Linked DNA regions of Homo sapiens: all the other regions are linked to region 1. Evidence: promoter capture Hi-C in human tissues and cell types (Jung and others, 2019). All regions are on one chromosome and are shown on one strand. The core of a region is centred on a gene start or on the middle of the fragment in contact, and the rest is flanking DNA. Distances in the headings are between cores, read along the strand shown. Region 1 holds the start of GRHL2 (grainyhead like transcription factor 2). Region 2 overlaps NCALD (neurocalcin delta). Region 3 has its middle 43 kb from the start of LINC02844.

Region 1 (4,379 bases), core at 593-3,092:
AGGCTAGTCCTTCCCCTCCACCCCTGAACAGGTCCGCAGGGCCTTCCCACTCCTCCCTCGTGGTCCCTCAACTTGGGACGGGTCCCCGCCACTTCTCCATGACAGGCCCAGCGGCCCGCGGCCTTGGGGCACCGGCCCTCTCCGGCGAGACACCTTCAGGAAGGTCCCCTCGGGGTGGCCGCAACGCCACGGCAAAGTTACCGGGGAAAGCAAAAGGGCGGCCCCGCGCACTTCCAATAGGACGCAGCCAGTTCCCAGGCCCGGACGCGCCCGAGAGGAGGGGGAAGGGAGTGTCCCCGCCGAATCCCGAGAAAGGCCGCGGGACCCACCTCCGGCTCCCTCCCGCGCCCGCCCAGGCCCCACCTCCCCCGGCTCGCACAAAGCCTTCCGAGGGCGGGGGCCGGCCAGGGGGGAGGCCGTCAGGACGCGGCCGGACCGGGCCCAGTGACCCGCGGGCGGCTCCGGCCGCGCAGGCTGTGGCTCCCCGACGCGTCTGGAGTGCCTGTCCGGGACGGGAAGGACGCGAGCCCAGCGTTCCCGCCGCCCCGAGCCCTCGGCCTTGACGGCGAGAGCACCCCGAGAAGGCTCGGCGCGCCCCACGCAGTCCCGCCTGCCGCGTCCGAGGTGGCGGCCAACTGCGTGGAGGGCCGCGAGCTCGAGGGGCGTGCAGACGCCGTCGGGGGCGCGGGTGAATCGCTCAGTGGCAGGCGCCCCTTCGCGCCCCGCCGAGGCCCTAACTCGAGGCCTCACATGAGTTCCCCCAGTTCGCGAACCGTCCTTTCCCCCCGGGCACCTGAGGAAGGTGGCCAAACAATGCGGGGGCGGACCCGGGGGAGGGAGGCGGGGGAGGGGGGAGGAAGGCGGGATGTCGAGGGAGTGGGGGACGGCGCCGGCCGCCCCCGCGCCCCCCGGCCTCCCAGCGCCTCGCCTCCCATCGGGGCCACACGCGGGCGCGCACTCACGCCCACCCTCCTGCCCGGTGCGAGAAGATGGCCGTTTCTGCCTCATATAAAAGCTCTTTGTTGCGGTCACACAAAAGCGGCCAAGCCCCACTTTTCCAGTAGGCCCTTTGGACAAATCGAAGGAACTCAGCTGAACTTCCAAATGGCCCTAAACGCCAGATCGGTGGGAGCAGCTAAAACAGAGAGGGAAGAGCAGGCCTCCCGCGCCCATCTACCAAAACCTCTGGCAATATCCAAGTATTCATCCAGGAGCGGGAGCTGAGACCATTCCTAAGGGAAGAAGGAAAAGGAAAACCCACTTTTACTATCAAGGCCCAAAGGGGATATTAAATATTCACATTGTTGTAGGGTTTCTCCCCTTAATCAGGGTAGAAACATAATGCGGAAAAGTCTGGATCCACCAAAAAGAAAAAGAAAAAAGAAAGAAAAATACCAACAATAGCAACTTAAAAACAAAAACATAACAAACCAGTTGCCATCAGCCCAAAGTGGTAGTAGTAGCAGCAGCCGGCGCGTGTGATCCACTTACTTGTCCGACTCTTGTGACATGTTTGATCCAATGAACTTGCTCCGCTTTTCCTGGAGCCTCAGCCTCTGGTGAAACTGGACTTTCAAGTCTGTGCAGGTGAAGGTGTGTGAGAGCGCCCGAGATGGCAGAACAAGAGCTACAGGTAATTCTGCTTTTCCGTCCCCCCTCACCACTCTCGCTCGCTCGCCCGCTCGCGCCCTCACCTAGCCGGAAAGGTGGGATAAGGGGGGGCCCCTCACATGGGGCCCGAGCTCGGAGGCGGCCGGGCGGCGCGGAGTCCTCCTGGATCGTGGCAATGGGCAGACACAGAGCAGAAAGTGGCGGACTTGGGCGGCCACAGGTAACTTTCTCGCAAGGAGCTGAATTCTTTCACTAAAGGGTACAAGCCCGAGGGACGAGCTGCGCGATGATTGGCTGGGGAGCTCCCTCAGGTGAGCTGCCATTGGCAGAGGCGCGCTCAGGTAAGGCCCTTCTCCGAGTGCAGGTAACTCACTCCGAAGTTTACCCGAGTGGAGCGGCGGCATGCTTGCAGCTCGGCGGCAGCCTGTGAGAGCTGAGGGTCAGTTCTTCGAGTAGATCTCAAGCTGCGTTTTCCTCCTTCTCCAAAGCAGGGATGGGAAGGTGGAGGCTACTGGTTGAAGAGAAGAAAGGGGTTGGGGGAATGCAACACCTGCAAACACTAGGGATTGTGGGTCGAGCGGAAGAGCTAATGAGAGCCGAGCTCAGGTATCCCAAGTCAACCAGAATCAAATGCGCAGTACGCCACAAGGCATTTAATGCCCACAGTAACAGGGCTGTTTGACAGTGGCAGAAGAGGACGGGACTAAAGTTACTTTGTGCTGAGAGGGGGAAAGAAGCACAAAGTTTGGTCTGTTGCGTAATTGAATTTTTAACACTCTTATCCACAACAAACACTTTTTCGTGTCCTGCTGTGTAAAAGACATCAGATATATTACAGATTTTCAAACAGGTGAGCATCCTTTTACGAGCTGGGCAGGTGGGGAGTGGCGTGGTTTTGATGGAGTGAGGAGATTTGGTTGAATGAACGCTAAGATGGCCAGACGCACCTCTTCGATCTCAACTCTGCAGCCTGGGATTCCAGAGCTGCAAACAACCACTGAATTCGTTCTGTAAACCTGTTGTCATTTGACGTTTCCAGGCAGGCATCAACATTTACATTGTAATTCAATAGACGCTACTACTACAAAGGAGCTTTATTCTTCCAGCTTAATATGGTTGCTGCGGGAACACTGCAGGATGAAACTGACTTTTTTTGTGGTAATGTTTCTCCTGGTTGGGAACAACGCAAATTAGCAAAGGCGTAATTTATAACCGCTGCTACCAAAGAGTGAAGTATTTGTGGAAGTTCTGACTGGAATCTAGCTCGTACATATGGATTGTGGAAATAAAGGAGGACGTGGAAAGCTTGCCATATTTTATTTCAAGTTAATACTAAAGCTGCCAGACTTAATACAACTTTCTTTTAATCTTTATGGATCACATATTTTCTGAAAATTACATGATAAAACAAGGTTTGGTTTGTTCCATGTGTCCATTTTCAACAATAAATTTCAAAATTGTATTTTTAAAAAACAATATAAACACACACTTTAAAGAAATAATATATTTTAAGACAATGCAGGTACTATTTTAATATAATATTTTAAGATAATGCAATACCTATCATGTTCCTCTCCTTTTTAGAGGCAGCCATATTCTGCTTTTATCTGTCTCTTCTGTCATTTACCTCCCTATTTCTAAATAATTTGTACTGCCATCTCTTGATTTGCCAATAGATGTTGTGCTCTGACTACCTGTTGCTTCAGATTAGGATTTAGCTCTTTCATGCCAAGCAACTTCTCCTTCCAACACAGCACTTTCACAGTTTAGGAGCTAAGTAAGTGACTATGCCAATAGCAATGACAACACAGCCAATAGTGTACTATTCTTGTTTTCTTCCTTATAAAACCTTGTATCTATTTACTTAGTTTGTTATGCCCCATCCTGATATTTTTCTACAACTGATCTATCAAATGACTATCATGTTTATTTTCCAAATGATCAAACAATCAATTCCAATTTTGCCCTGAAAACAATTCCTCCAGAAATTCATTGTTCTACTGTTTCAGTGGAGATGAGTTGCTCTATGGATCCGCTTCTCAAGTGTCATCCTGGGACACTCTTTTTTTTTTTTTTTTTTTTTTTTTGACAGAGTCTCTCTCTGTTGCCCAGGCTAGTGTGCAACGGTGTGATCTCAGCTCACTACAACCTCTGCCTCCCGGGTTCAAGTGATTCTCCTGCCTCAGCCTCCCAAGTAGCTGGGATTACAGGCATGCACCACCAAGTCCAGCTAATTTTGTATTTTTAGTAGAGACGGGGTTTCTCCATGTTGGTCAGGCTGGTCTAGAACTCCCAACCTCAGGTGATCCACCTGCCTCAGCCTCCCAAAGTGCTGGGATTACAGGTGTGAGCCACCGTGCCCGGCCTGGGACACTCCTTAATCTGTAGTGTGAGAACCCCCATTTCTGTGTTTTGTGCCTTCTTTCTTGGTTTACTGCTTCATTTTCCATGGCACATGTTTTAGTAACAGCCCAAGAAAGGGTACAGAAGGTAAAAATTTGAGTTATTACATACTTGAATATGTCTTTATTCAACTTTTACTTTTACTAGAGTTTGACCAAGTGTAGAATTCTTACCAGAATTTCTTCATTCATAATTTTATAGAAATTGCTTTTCACTTATTTATTTTAATTTTTTAATTAAAAAAAATTTTTAGGCCATGCACAGTGGCTTGCACCTGTAATCCCAGCACTTTGGGAGGCCAAGGCAGGAGGATCACTTGAGTCCAGGAGTTCAAGATCAGCATGGGCAATGTAGCTAGACCCCAT
Region 2 (4,379 bases), core at 1,039-3,538, 220 kb before region 1:
ATTTATTAAATAGGGAATCCTTTCCCCATTTCTTGTTTTTGTGAGGTTTGTCAAAGATCAGATGGTTGTAGATGTGTGGTGTTATTTTTGAGGCCTCTGTTCTGTTCCATTGGTCTATATATCTGTTTTGGTACCAGTACCATGGTGTTTTGGTACTAGTACCATGCCGTTTTGGTTACTGTAGCCTTGTAGTATAGTTTGAAGTCAGGTAGCATGATGCCTCCAGCTTTGTTCTTTTTTTTTTTTTGAGACGGAGTCTCGCTCTGTCGCCCAGGCCGGACTGTGGACTGCAGTGGCGCAATCTCGGCTCACTGCAAGCTCCGCTTCCCGGGTTCACGCCATTCTCCTGCCTCAGCCTCCCGAGTAGCTGGGACTACAGGTGCCCGCCACCGCGCCCGGCTAATTTTTTTGTATTTTTAGTAGAGATGGGGTTTCACCTTGTTAGCCAGGATGGTCTCGATCTCCTGACCTCATGATCCACCCGCCTCGGCCTCCCAAAGTGCTGGGATTACAGGCGTGAGCCACCGTGCCCGGCCCCCAGCTTTGTTCTTATTGCTTAGAATTGTCTTGGCTATACAGGCTCTTTTTTGGTTTCATATGAAATTTAAAGTACTTTTTTCTAATTCTGTGAAGAAAGTCAATGGTAGCTTGATGTGAAGAGCATTGAATCTATAAATTACTTTGGACAATATGGCCGTTTTCATGATATTGATTTTTCCTACCATGAGCATGGAATGTTTCTCCATTTGTTTATGTCCTCTCTTATTTCCTTGAGCAGTGGTTTGTAGTTCTCCTTGAAGAGGTCCTTCACGTCCCTTCTAAGTTGTATTCCTAGGTATTTTATTCTCTTTGTAGCAATTGTGAGTGGGAGTTTGCTCATGATTTGGCTCTCTGTTTGTGTATTATTGGTGTATAGGAAAGCTTGTGATTTTTGCACACTGATTTTGTATCCTGAGACTTTGCTGAAGTTGCTTATCAGCTTAAGGAGTTTTGGGGCTGAGATGATGGGGTTTTCTAAATATATTATCCTGTCATCTGCAAACAGAGAAAATTTGACTTCTTCTCTTCTTATTTGAATACGCTTTATTTCTTTCTCTTTCCTGATTGCCCTGGCCAGAACTTCCAATACTATGTTGAACAGGAATGGTGAGAGAGGGCATCCTTGTCTTGTGCCAATTTTCAAAGGGAATGCTTCCAGCTTTTGCCCATTCGGTGTGATATTGGCTGTGGATTTGTCATAAATAGCTCTTATTATTTTAAGGTATGTTCCATCAATACCTAGTTTACTGAGTGTTTTTAGCATGAAGGGATTTTGAATTTTATTGAAGGCCTTTTCAGAGTCTCTCTTTTTCTATTGTTTGGAATAGTTTCAGAAGGAATGGTGCAAGCTCCTCTTTGTACCTCTGGTAGAATTCGGCTGTGAATCCATCCGGTCCTGGGCTTTTTTTTGTTGGTAGGCTATCAATTATTGCCTCAATTTCAAAATGTGTTATTCGTCTATTCAGGGATTCAACTTCTTCCTGGTTTAGTCTTTGGAGGGTGTATGTGTCCAGGAATTTATCCATTTCTTCTTGATTTTTTAGTTTATTTGTGTAGAGGTGTTTATAGTATTCTCTGATGGTAGTTTGTATTTCTGTAGGATCAGTGAGGATATCCCCCTTATCATTTTTTATTGTGTCAATTAGATTCTTCTCCCTTTTCTTCTTTATTAATCTGGCTAGTGGTCTATCTATTTTGTTAATCTTTTCAAAAAAAAACAGTTCCTTGATTCCTTGATTTTTTTATGGTTTTTTTTTGTGTCTCTATCTCCTTCAGTTCTCCTCTGATCTTAGTTATTTCTTGTCTTCTGCTAGCTTTTGAATTTGTTTGCTCTTCCTTCTCTAGTTCTTTTAATTGTGATGTTAGGGTGTCAATTTTAGATATTTTCTGCTTTCTACTGTGGGCATTTAGTGCTATAAATTTCCCTCTAAACACTGCTGTAGCTGTGTCCCAGAGATTCTGATATATTGTGTCTTTGTTTTCATTGGTTTCAAAGGACTTATTTATTTCTGCCTAATTTCATTATTTACCCACTAGTCATTCAGGAGCAGCTTGTTCAGTTTCCACGTACTTGTGCAGTTTTGTGTGAGTTTCTTAATCCTGAGTTCTAAGTTGATTGCATTATGGTCTGAGAGACTGTTTGTTATGATTTCCATTCTTTTTTATTTGCTGAGGAGTTTTACTTTCAATTATGTGTTCAATTTTAGAATAAGTGTGATGTGGTGCTGAGAAGAATGTATACACTGTTGATTTGGGGTGTAGAGTTCTGTAGATGTCTGTTAGGTCTGCTTGGTCCAGAGCTGAGTTCAAGTCCTGAATATCCTGGTTAATTTTCTGTCTTGTTGATCTGTCTAATATTGGCAGTGGAGTGTTAAAGTCTCCCACTATTATTGTGTGGGAGTATAAGTCTCTTTGTAGGTCTCTAAGAACTTGGTTTATGAATCTGGGTGCTCCTGTATTGGGTGCATATATATTTAGTATAGCTAGCTCTTCTTGTTGCATTGATCCCTTTACCATTATGTAATGCCCTTCTTTGTCTTTTTTGATCTTTGTTGATTTAAAGTCTGTTTTATCAGAGATTAGGATTGCAACCTCTGCTATTTTTTTTTTTTTTTTTTTTTTTTGCTTTCCATTTGTTTGGTAAATCTTCCTCCATCCCTTTATTTTGAGCCTATGTGTGTCTTTGCATGTGAGATGAGTCTCCTGAATACATCACACTGATGGGTCTTGACTCTTTATCCAATTTGCCAGTCTGTGCCTTTTAATTGGGGGCATTTAGCCTATTTACAATTTAAGATTATTATTGTTATATGTGAATTTGATCCTGTCATTATGATGCTAGCTGTTTATTTTGCCCATTAGTTGATGAAGTTTCTTCATAGTGTTGACGGTCTTTGCATTTTGGTTTGTTTTTGCAGTGGTTGGTACCAGTTTTTCCTTTCCATATTTAGTGCTTCCTTTGGGAACTCTTGTATGGCTGGTGGTGACAAAATCCCTTAGCATTTGCTTGTCTGTAAAGGATTTTATTTCTCCTTCACTTATGAAGCTTAGTTTGGCTGGATATGAAATTCTGGGCTGAAAATTCTTTTCTTTAAAAATGTTGAATATTGACCCTCACTGGCTTGTAAGGTTTCTGCAGAGAGAGCCACTGTTAGTCTGATGGGCTTCCTTTATGGGTAACCCAGCCTTTCTTTCTGGCTGCCCTTAATATTTTTTCCTTCATTTCAACCTTGGTGAATCTGACGATTATGTGCCTTGGGGTTGCTCTTCTCGAGAAGTATCTTTGTGGTGTTCTCTGTATTTCCTGAATTTGAATGTTGGCCTGTCTTGCTAGGTTGGGGACGTTCTCCTGGATAATATTCTGAAGTGTGTTACCAACTTGGTTCCATTCTCTCTGTCATTTTCAGGTACACCAATCAAACGTTAAGTTTGGTCTTTTCACATAGTCCCGTATTTCTTGGAGGCTTTGCTCGTTCCTTTTCATTCTTTTTTCTCTAATCTTGTCTTCATGCCTTATTTCATTAAGTTGACCCTTAATCTCTGATACCCTTTCTTCTGCTTGATCGATTTGGGTATTGATACTTGTGTATGCTTCACAAAGTTCTCGTGCTGTCTTTTTCAGCTCCATCAGGTCATTTATATTCTTCTCTAAACTGGTTATTCTAGTTAGCAACTCCTCTAACTTTTTATCAAGGTTCTTAGCTTCCTTGCATTGGGTTAGAACATGCTCCTTTAGCTCGGAAGAGTTTGTTATTACCCACCTTCTGAAGCCTACTTCTGTCAATTTGTCAAACTCATTCTCCGTCCAGTTTTATTCCCTTGCCCGCGAGGGGTTGTGATCCATTGAAGGATAAGAGGCATTCTGGTTTTTGGAATTTTCAGGCTTTTTGCACTGGTTTTTCTTCATCTTCATGGATTTACCTACCTTTGATCTTTGCTGTTGGTGACCTTCGGCTGGAGTTTTTTGTGTGGTTGTCCTTTTTGGTGATGTTGATGCTATTGCTTTCTGTTTGTTGGTTTTCCTTCTAGCAGGCAGGCCCCTCTTCTGCAGGTCTGCTGGAGTTTGCTGGGGGTTCTCTCTAGATCCTGTTTGCCTGGGTATCACCAGCAGAGGCTGCAGAATAGCAAAAATTGCTGCCTGCTCCTTCCTCTGGAAGTTTTATCCCAGAGGGGCACCTGGCCAGGTGCCAGCCAAAGCTCTCCTGTATAAGGTGTCTGTCGACCCCTGCTGGGAGGCATCTCCTAGTCAGGAGCCTCGGGGGTCAGGGACCCACTTGAGGAGGCAGTCTGTCCCTTAGCAGAGCTTGAGCACTGTGCTGGGAGATCGCTGCTCTCTTCAG
Region 3 (4,379 bases), core at 805-3,304, 190 kb after region 1:
CCAATCAAAACCCCAGGCTCTTTGTAGAAATTGACAAACTAGGTCTAGAATGTATGTGAAAATGCAAAGGACCTAAAACATGTAAAGCAATTTTGAAAAAGAAGGTTACTGTGGAATGAGTTATATTATTTGATTTCAGTACATGCAATAGAACTATATAACAATGGAGAGAGTGGTATTTGTGTAAAGACAATCATATAGGTCAATAGAGCAGAGAGTCCAGAGATAGTCTCATTCATATGTGGTGAATTGGCTTTTGACAAAATAAATAAATAAAAGGCCAAAGTAATTAAAAGGCCAAGGTAATTAACTAAGGAAAGAATAATCTTTTCAACACATAGTCCTGGAACAGTTAGTTATCCAAGTGATCCATATGTAAGAAAATAAATCTTGACCCTTATATCAGACCATACAGAAAGACTAACTCTGAATGAACCATAGAGCTAAGGGTAAGACATAACGTTATACAACTTTCAGAAGAGAACACAAGAAAATCTCTGTGACTTAGGCTTGGGAAAGATTTCTCAAATCGAACATAAGAAGCCTGAAGTACAAAAGAAAAAATTAATAAACTGGACTTCATTAAAATTAATAACTTTAGTTCTTCAAAAGACACTGTTTAAAAATGGAAAGAGGCCAAGCAAGGTGGCTCATGCCTGTAATCCCAAAACCTTGGGAGGCCAAGGAAGGAGGATCACTTGAGGCCAGGAGTTTGAGACCAGCCTGGGTAACATAACAAGACCCCATCTCTACAAAAAGGAGACAAAAGAATAGAAAAAAGACAAGACAATAGAAATTATGCAAAATGAAATGCAGAGAGAAATTTAATTTTAAAAAGTATTTTTTAAAACTTTTTAAAAATAGTTTGCCAGATATGGCAGCTCATACCTGTAAGCCTAGCTACTTGGGAGGCTGAGGCTGGAGGATCTTTTTCTCTTTTCTTTCTTTCTTTTTCTCTTTCTTTCTTTCTTTCTTTCATTCTCTTTCTTTCTTTCTTTCTCTCTTTCTTTCTTTCTTTTCTTCTTTTCTTCTTTCTTTCTCTCTCTCTTTCCTTCCTTCCTTCCTATCTTCCTTTCTTTCTTTCATTTTTTTTTGGAGCTTTCCGGTGAATACTGGGAAACCTGCTAGACAAATTCTAAAAGAGCTGTAACACTACATGGATATTTTTCAATACATATATTGAAAAACTTTTTGTAGATTTGCAATAATTTGAAAACATTCAAAGATGAACTGTGCAGCCTAGAAATATCAAAATTAAGAAAAAGGTATGTCATGAATGCATAAAATGTATGTAGACACTAGTCTATTTTATCATTGACTACCATAAAATATACACAAATCTTTCATATAAAGTTAAAAGTTAACGAAACTTACACACACACAAACACGGACTGTACATGGCACCATTCGCAGTCAAAAGAAATGGAAACAAACATAAAGATGCAGTATTACATCAGAACTGCATAAAATTAACCTGTACATCCTGTGGTACCGTAATAACTTCATAGGCACCTCCTGTTGTTATTGTCATGAAGCTTTCGTTTTAAGAATATCCACTTAACATGTCATGTAAGCTATTCATCTCCATGTGGGCAGTTCATCTCTCCAGTAAGCTGCACATCCAAATAAAAAGTGATCTTTGTTGGTTCTCAGGTATTTTTCATTGTGTTTATTGTAATACTGTAATCCTTGAATAACACCATGGGACAAGTAGGAAGTGCCACCAGTGATGTTGGAAGTGCTCCCAAGAAGCAGAAAAGTCATGTCAGTACAGGAAAAGATTGAGTTTCTTGATGTACCATAGACTGAGGCTTGTAGCTGCAGTTGCCATTTTAGACAGAGGATTCATCTTATAAACAGACAATAGAAACTTACGGTATCGATAAATACGGTACAGTAGTGTAAATGTATTTTGTCTTCTTTATGATTTTCCTAATAGCACTTTCTTTTCTCTAGCTAGCTTTATTGTAAGAATACAGTATATAATACGTATAACATACAAAATATGTGTAAATCAATTGTTTATGTTAGCGGTAAGGCTTCCAGTTAACAGTAGGCTATTAGTTAAGTTTTGGGGGTGTCAAAAGTTATATGTGGAATTTCAACTGCAGGAGTGGGGGGGTGTTGGTGCCCCTAACCCATTGTTCAAGGATCAATCATATATAATAAACCTTTACCACTCGAAAATATTAAGAAAATAAACTAATCAATTTAGGTAAAAAATTGGCAAACTATTTGAACAGACACTACACCAAAGAAGATACGAATTGCCACTACCTACATTAAAAAATGTTATCAGAAAATCTTGAAAATTAAAACTACAATAAATTACCACTGTACAGTCACTAGAATAGCTACAATTTTAGAAGACACATAATATCAAATGTCAGCGAGGATCTGGAGAACTGGCACTCTCAGGCTGTGCTGGTAAGAATGCAAAACGGTGTAGCCATTTTAAAAAACAGATCGGTAGTCTTTTAAACAAAGGCTGCCATATGCCCCGCACTTTGACTCCCAGGTATTTATCCAAAAGAAATGAAAATATTAATCTGCCCAAAGACTTATGCACCAATACTCATAGTAGCTTTATTTATAGTAGGTAAAAACTGACACCAACCTAAATGTCCACCAATGGATGAACAGAAAAGCATATATTGTATGATATTCATAAAATAGAAAACTACTCAGCGAAAAAGAAAGGAACTCAATAATAGCAACAACTTAGGTGAATTTCAAAAGCATCATGCGAAGTTAAAAAAAAGGTTGGCATAAAGATTATAACAGCATGGTTCCATATGTATGAAAGTCTAGGAATTGCAAGATGATGGTAATGGAAAGCAGACCTTTGGTTGCTAGGGGCCAGGAGTGGGAGAAGGGGATTGACTGCAAGGGACATAAGGACATTTTTTGAGGGTGATGTAAAAATTTAATATCTTTACTGTGATGGTAGTTACACAACAACATAATTTCAAAAAATCACTTAATTGGGGACACTTAAAATTGGTGAATATTTACTGTATGTAAATTATACCTAAATAAAGCTGACCCCACCCCAAAATGAAGCATATGTCATCCCCAGTTCACAGATGAGGACACTGAGGCTTGTAGAAGATTGGGAACATGCTTGCATCACAGAACCAGCAGGTAGTGACTCCAAGATTCAAACCCAGGTGACTAAGTCCACAGCTCATCTTCCTTCTTCCACATCTGGCTTCCTCCCTTGCTTATTCATTCCACAAAAAAGTATTAAAGGCTCATGTTAAAAGAACTAGCAGAATAAGTCATGTATTATGAAGGTCCCTTGGCCAAGAATCTATGGTTTTCCCCACTTAGTTCTTACCTCGAAGCTCCTCCTTCATCAGGCCCTTCTCGCAGACTATTGCCCCACCTAGGGCATGAAGGTGCATCTCTGAGATATGCAAGGCTCTCCAAGGCCTGCCCTCAGCCTGGAATGCCTGAGCCCCCTGCCTTTCCCTGCCCACCCTGCCTCACCCTCCCTCTTCCTTCCTCAAATCTGGGTCTTTTGCTTCCCTTATTTCTAGACTCAAATTCACCCCATCCCATCCTCAGCACTTGGACTTGATATTTTCCAGCTCTCCATTATTTTGTTCTTTGACTCCCTTTGGCCTTTGTCACCTACAGCCTATGGACTCCCTAACTAGACCTTGAGCTCTATGGAATGCTACTTATTGAGGTAGTGTGTTCCCACAAAGCACCAGACAGCATCTGTTACACATCTGGCACTTCCAAGCAGGCTCTTGAATCTTCTCAGCCCCACTTAGTTCAACCGAGCAAACCCTCACTCGGCCCCTGCTCTAGTTCACGTCATGCCTGGTGTTACAATGCCTGGTGTTACACACATGAGTAAGACAAGGTCTTGGTCTTCAGGGGCCTGCAGCACAGCGAGGGAGAAAAGCCTGAGAACAAGTAACTACCCATCAGGGCAGTGGACACAGAGACAGAAATATGAGCAGGTCCAGCCGTCACAGAAGGCAGGTGCTTGCTCTCCTTGGGGTGGGCAGGGGCATGATGGGAGCCAGTGTGGACAGCAGGGGAGTCTTCTCGGGGCAGGTGACCCCTGTGCTGGGTTTAAAGAATGGAGAGGAGATGTAAAAAGCCCCAGAAATGCCATGTGCATAGTCATTGACACATGAAGGGGCACAGTGTGTCTGGGAAGCAGACTGCTTCCCAGGACATGAGGTCTAGGAGGTGGCAGGGCCAGGAAAGAAAGGGCTGTTGTTACAAGAATCAGAGGCTAAGCCAGCTGAGAGCCAGATGTGGTGTTAACAGAGGCCAACTTTGACCCAAGTACGGAAAGTAAAGTGATGGAAATAGCATGTACTTGGCTTCCAGTATACGTTAGTGTTGGACACTCTTCT

What was found. The method cuts DNA at HindIII sites, captures the fragments that hold promoters and counts their contacts. A contact is called where the count stands out against the background at its distance.
Region 2: a contact is called between a fragment that was not itself captured here and the fragment with the promoter of GRHL2 in region 1, in 1 of the 25 tissues and cell types used here (mesenchymal stem cells).
Region 3: a fragment that was not itself captured here is called in contact with the fragment with the promoter of GRHL2 in region 1 in 1 of the 25 tissues and cell types used here (aorta).

What each region holds. Positions count from the first base shown.
Region 1 is chr8:101,489,902-101,494,280 of GRCh38, reverse strand. GRHL2 (grainyhead like transcription factor 2) reads right to left here and starts at 1,842. Exons shown (of 16, transcript NM_024915.4): 1 at 1,492-1,842. The coding sequence starts at 1,511. It overlaps GRHL2-DT (GRHL2 divergent transcript), which reads left to right and starts at 1,576. Exons shown (of 2, transcript NR_186782.1): 1 at 1,576-1,831. RefSeq lists an enhancer at 1,296-1,824. The HindIII fragment of the contact is 12,677 bases long and covers 1-4,379 here.
Region 2 is chr8:101,710,872-101,715,250 of GRCh38, reverse strand. The region is part of intron 2 of NCALD (neurocalcin delta); the gene reads left to right. Among named protein-coding and RNA genes, the nearest start is that of NCALD, 78 kb to the left of the region's middle. The HindIII fragment of the contact is 5,335 bases long and covers 1-4,379 here.
Region 3 is chr8:101,304,143-101,308,521 of GRCh38, reverse strand. It overlaps the pseudogene RNU7-67P. Among named protein-coding and RNA genes, the nearest start is that of LINC02844, 43 kb to the right of the region's middle. The HindIII fragment of the contact is 3,712 bases long and covers 199-3,910 here.